Regions from separate parts of the Homo sapiens genome. Here region 1 is linked to region 2. Evidence: promoter capture Hi-C in 16 types of primary human blood cells and fetal thymus (Javierre and others, 2016). All regions are on one chromosome and are shown on one strand. The core of a region is centred on a gene start or on the middle of the fragment in contact, and the rest is flanking DNA. Distances in the headings are between cores, read along the strand shown. Region 1 overlaps DCP1B (decapping mRNA 1B). Region 2 holds the start of LRTM2 (leucine rich repeat transmembrane protein 2).

Region 1 (2,950 bases), core at 107-2,606, 130 kb before region 2:
TGCTCTTTTTGTTATGAATCCTACTGTGTTAGCAATTGCATGGTTGGTTAGATTAATGTATAATAATGAGTCAGTGTTGGAAATGATGAGATTTGTCTCTTGTCTCTTTCTCTACAAAATTCTAATTTGTAGTAAGTAGCTCAGAACGCTCAGATTTGAATTACTCTGTTTATGCAAGAAGTCATTTATTAAATAAAGATGATGTTAGTAATTTTTAAATCAGTGGTTTGAGTCAGCTTTTTGGTTTGTAGACCAAAAAAGATTTAGTTACTTTGATGAAATGTACTCAACTACTCTCCAATTTTAAGTCAACTGCTTAAATTGTCCAGACATGTTATTTAAGGAATGGTTTCTATATTTGTTTATCATTGAAAGACATTAGACTATATATATTTAAACGTATAGTCAATATATTAAGCACAGAACCTTTCAATTATACAGGTGTCTTAAGAACCCCTGGTCCTGGAGGCTGGTGTTGTTAGTAATATTTAGAGCACTGAATTGTCCAACTAAGAAAAATTAAATTTTAACTTGATTTATACTCAAACATAGCTCTTAGAGAAATTTAAGGGATTTTCCTTTGTGCATGAAAATCTATCAAAAACACAGCCGTCTACCAATTAGATAAGAAGTAAAAAGGTAGTCTTTTAAAAAGACTAAAGCTTTTCTAAGCCAAAAATGAGGGGATTTTCTTTTCTATTTCAGTGTAAAACCTGTTCTGAGCCAAAAAAGATAACCAGTTCCTCTGCCATCTATGACAATCCAAATCTCATCAAACCAATTCCAGTGAAACCCAGTGAAAACCAGCAACAGCGTATACCTCAGCCCAACCAGGTACGGAGTTCTCTGCTTGTCATATTCAGTGTGTCTCTAGAATTCTTAAAGAACTTTGACCCAGAATATAGTCAGGGGAGGGCCTGGTGTTGTTGAAGAATGCTTTCAGGTAAACCCAAGAAAGCGGGATTTCAGAATACAGATTTTTTCATTATTAATAACTTACTCTTCCTAGAAGAGGGTTAAAGTTTTTACTTTTGGCATATACCACATTCTGTGCTAATCTCTTGTGAACTTGAACTCCTTAAAAGATAATGTATTTTTTAAAAAACAACAAGCCAGCACAGTGGCTCAAGCCTGTAATCCCAGCACTTTGAGAGGCTGAGGCGAGAGGATCATTTGAGGCCAGAAGTTTGAGAGCAGCCTGGGCAACACAGTGAGACTCCATCTCTACAGGAAAATTAGCCAGGCATGATGGCGTGCACCTGTAGTGCTAGCTGCTCTGGAGGCTGAGGCGGGAGGATCCCTTGAGCTTAGGAGTTTGAGGTTACGGTGAGCTATGGAATGCGCCACTGCACTCCAGCCTGGGCAAGAAAGCAAGACCATGTCTCAGAAAACAAAAACAAACAAACAAGCACCCTAGAAAACTAATAACATTGTCAGAGATGACAGAAACATTACCCATTGGGTCCATATTCTTCTGGGGTGGGTGGCTTCCCAAGGCCACCTGGGAGAACCACCAAGGACACAGAGTTGATTTGAGCACTTCTGAGCACCTCCTCTGTGCCAGATGCAGAGCTAGCACTGTAGACTGGGGTAGCTGCCGCCGAGAGCTCAGAGTCCAAAGGAATGGTATAAAACTCCTCTTCAGATATGATGACTTGTCACTGTCTTTGCAATCTAAATTAGAAATATTACAGCAGCTTTTGTGTTAGTGTATATATATATATATATACACTTCAGAATAGTACAGCAATGACAAAAATTGTCAATCTGTAGGTCCCATTAATGATTGTAAATATAATATTGCTGTGTCATTTTATCATGACTATGACTAATTAAAAAGATTTTCTTAAAGGAATTAGTTTATATCAATTTTGAAAATGAACATGGAGCCAAAAGACATAAAGACTAGTAATGAAAATCTTATATTGAATTTTTAAAGAAAAGAAGTCTTCTAATTTTTTAGCTTTCTTTTTATTGCTTGTTTTATGGAAAGTTTTTATTATATTTTAATAGCGAGACCTGAATATGTTGACTTTAAAATGAAGCTTGTGGTTTTTTTTCTTTCCTCTTTTATTTTTTTTTTTGAGACAGATTTCATTCCTGTTACCCGGGCTGGAGTGCAGTGGCACCATCTCAGCTCACTGCAACTTGTGTCTCCTGGGCTCAAGCAATCCTCCCACCTCAGCCTCCCAAGTAGCTGGGACTACAGGCGTGTGCTGCCACATCTGGCAATTTCTGTATTTTTTGTAGAGATGGGGTTTTGCCATGTTGCCCAGGCTGGTCTTGAACTCCTTAGCTCAAGCAGTCTGCCTGCCTTGGCCTCCCAAAGTGCAGGAATTACAGGCATGAGCCACTGTGCCTAGCCTCATGTTTTCTCAGTGCAACAATGCAGAAAGCAACAGAAGTAAAGAGCAAGAAGGAAGTAGCTTTGTAACTGGCTGGGCCAAGGTAGATTTTATGTATCCAAGGACTTTTTAAATCCTACCAGTATATATTTGAAAGGATCAAGTTAGATTTAAAGTCTTCCGTTTCTTTCCAGCCCTTGATTTCCATAATTCTGTGAAAAACTACTAGAAATTCTGAAATGCTTATATTCCTTTGTATTCTCATATTACTCTGCAGGCTTAGATGGGCTTCCTATTGAACAGATTGTTTATTTTTTTAGTGCATATAATTTCCTACCAAGGTGGTTCCCAATCTGTGAAACCCCAGGCCCTTGAAGATCTTATACCTGTTTTATCGGTCAACAGATATTAAAATATAATAACTGTTTTGGGGGTGCAAGGGGAGCATGCTGTGAAAATTTTTGACATTAAAAAGGGGATCTCATTTTTCAAGTTTATTATTATTATTTTTCATTCTCTCTAATCAATCCTTTGTAAATAGAATAAGTCATCAGATAAGTTATGTTTCATAGCACTTCCTCATATAACCAAATTGTTTGTAGACT
Region 2 (2,796 bases), core at 270-2,769:
TTCTGCCGGTGGGGAGGTGGGGGTGGGAAAAGCTGGGCTCTTCTTGGCAGCTCGGAAGCTGCTGTCGGGTTTCCCTACCAGCTGGACTTCCCCCGCCTCAGCTCCACGTGCTCGGCTCCCTCCCCGCCCCCACCTGAGGCAGTTATCTAAGCTGCAGGGGTGTCATCTGAGTCACAAAGAGACACTGCCCAAGTAGCCCTGACAGCCGGGTGCCAACACCCCCCAGAAATGTGGACAGCTTGGGGGTGGGGGAGAGACAGGGCCGCCAACTGGAACCCAGCCCCAGACCTGCAGGGAGGTGCAGGAATGTGAACTTCCGACTCCTGGTCAGGCTGCTCCTCTCTCCAGCACTGTCCAAATGGGTCTGGGGGATTGAGAGCAACTGTCCCGCTCTACTCAGGGTGTCCATGCCCCCTGTGTGGGTCAAGAAGCCAGGCAGGCCTGGCCCCGCTGTGTACCCCCCACCCAAGCTCAGTGTCCAGCCCCCACTAAGGCTCCCTGACCCATTTGCAGATGGACGGCTGGGTGCACAGCTGCGGGACACCCCAGCAGGTTCTCGCGGGCCTGGTTCTCCTGTCTTGCCCTTGGGCTAGCAGGGAAGGGCTGCGATACTTCTCTCTCCTGCCCACTCCCAGCCTCACCCTCACCAGGGAGGCTTCATGCACAGCTGAGTGGGCCCATGCTCATCTGGGGGAGGGTTCCTCCACACCCTTGTCCAAGGACAGCCACCTGCAGGCAAGCTATAGGGAGGCCCAGGACCTGGGTCTGTGCCCATGCCTCTGACATCCAGGACCTCCTCCCTGCCACCCTCCACCCCAAGCCTTCCTCTGACCTGGCCCTGTCCCCAGCACCTGACTGCCATCCCAACCGCTTCCCATGACCCCCGAGTTTCTTGGGGCTGTCTGTGCAGAGCCGGGCACAACGACAGCACAAGGCTCTTGGCTGCTTCTCCCATGCTGCAGGGACCGGTTTCTATGCCACCCGGGACTGTCATCTGGCGCCAGCGCTGCCCTCCTCCCCACTTCCCAGCAGAATCCACAGCTCTTGTCCCCAGCACTGTGGGCTCAGAGTTCCCAGTGTCGTGCACCTTTGGGATGCTCAGGTGCCTGAGCCCGAGCAGCTTCTTCGGCCCCAGCAATTGCCTGCAGGTAGGAAGCAACTGCAGCTATTCCTGCAGGGCAGAGATGGCCGGTGCCCACTTCCCATGCCCCGACCACCCCCTGTCCCCACCAACCCTCCATTCCTTCCTACCAGCCACTCGGTACTCACCCGTCTTTACTCTGACTGCAAACGCCTTCAATCAGGTGGCTCTCAACCCTCCAGTAAGACCCTCCTGGGATTCCTATAGAAATCCAGACACCACCGGCAGGCAGAGCGCAGTGGGCACTGGTGCCAGAGTCTCCACTCAGCGGGAGCAGCGGCTGGCACGCAGCACACAGCACCAGGAGGTGGACTGCTTGTGGCAGACGGGGGACGGGGCTGCTGGGTCAGTCACAAACTGAGAAGGAAAGAGAGGGATGGAGGGAGAGAGAGAGAGGAGAGAGGGAAGAAAGGGGCGAGGGAGGAGAGCGCACGCGTGTGCGCGAGCAGCGAGCCAGAGTGGAGCGGGGAGTGACAGCTGGGGTGCATCTGTGATGACAGCGGCAGCAGCACACACAGGCGCACACCAGAGGCACCACGGCCGGCCGCGAGGGCAGCGCTCACCCTGGCCACGCTCACATTTCAGTGGAAAAAGGCGCCTGTGGATGAATCGCTGCCGACCACAGGGAGGAGGAAAGCGGTTTCACCACCACCTCCATCTTCCATCCTGCGCCTCCAGGCTCTCCCTCACCCCCCCGGCTGCACCTGTCTTCTGTGCCTCTCTCCTCTCTTCCCCTCCATCTGGGGAAAGAGGGACAGGCGCAGACACAGAGCAAGCGGCTGACTTCTGTTCCGATGGAGGCCCCCCTGGGAAGCTGGTCTTTCTCCTGTTTTAGAGACATGCGAGGCAGAGTCTCCCATCCTGCCTGAGAGAAGGAAAAACCGAACCCTTCTCTCGGTCATACGAAAGAAGGGTACACAGGCATGTCCATGTGCCAGATGACCCTACAGGAAAGGGCCCTGAGCCCCCACAAAGCCAGGGATCACATGGTCATGCAGAGGTCACTGAGCCTCAGGGTCTGACCACCCGACGCCAGGACTACTTAGGGAAGCAGAATGCCAGAGTTGGCAGGCTGGGAGTTTGGGCACAGGGCAGCCTGCAGCAGCAGCCTGCAGACCGTTCTCAGTGCCAGGGACGAGCTTGGCTTCTCAGGGCTCCTTGCTCTTATCTGTGATGGGTCAGGCATGCGAAGGGAAGAGACTGTCATTCAAGAACTTGGAGGCCTCTTTCTTAACCAATCAGGACAAAGCAAGTCAGAAAAATTGATATCCTAAGAGATGGGAAGTGGCTGATCTGAAGGCCAAGTGAGTCAGGGACCAAGCTAGAGGGGAGCCAGGGCCCCACCAGCCTGGAGCACGAACCCTAAATCCCCCTTCCTTTGCGTCCACTGCCTGTAGACAGATGAAGCACCGTGCTAGCGATATATCACCGTGTCCTATGTCCCTCTTCCATTTTGCCTGCTTTGCTGGAGGGGTTCACAGCCAGGACTGGGGTGGGTGTAGAAGAACCCCCTGGACTCAGGATGCCCCTAGAAGGATGCTCCTGCTCACTCCCTTCTGTCCGTTCTGCCGGGTCCCCGGGCAGCACAAGGCTTGAGCTGCAGTGTCTTTTACCTCTGGGGAGTCCCGCCTCTGACCTCTCATGCTGGTGCCTCC

The links. The method cuts DNA at HindIII sites, captures the fragments that hold promoters and counts their contacts. A CHiCAGO score of 5 or more calls a contact.
Region 1: a fragment that was not itself captured here is called in contact with the fragment with the promoter of LRTM2 in region 2 in 2 of 17 cell types (naive CD8 T cells and naive CD4 T cells); the score reaches 5.4 in naive CD8 T cells.

What each region holds. Positions count from the first base shown.
Region 1 is chr12:1,953,316-1,956,265 of GRCh38, reverse strand. It overlaps DCP1B (decapping mRNA 1B), which reads left to right. Exons shown (of 9, transcript NM_152640.5): 6 at 706-834. Among named protein-coding and RNA genes, the nearest start is that of LINC00940, 18 kb to the right of the region's middle. RefSeq lists an enhancer at 1,010-2,209. The HindIII fragment of the contact is 1,383 bases long and covers 665-2,047 here.
Region 2 is chr12:1,819,288-1,822,083 of GRCh38, reverse strand. It overlaps LRTM2 (leucine rich repeat transmembrane protein 2), which reads right to left and starts at 1,519. Exons shown (of 5, transcript NM_001039029.3): 1 at 1,270-1,519. The region is part of intron 26 of CACNA2D4 (calcium voltage-gated channel auxiliary subunit alpha2delta 4); the gene reads left to right. RefSeq lists an enhancer at 1,203-1,949. The HindIII fragment of the contact is 5,864 bases long and covers 1-2,796 here.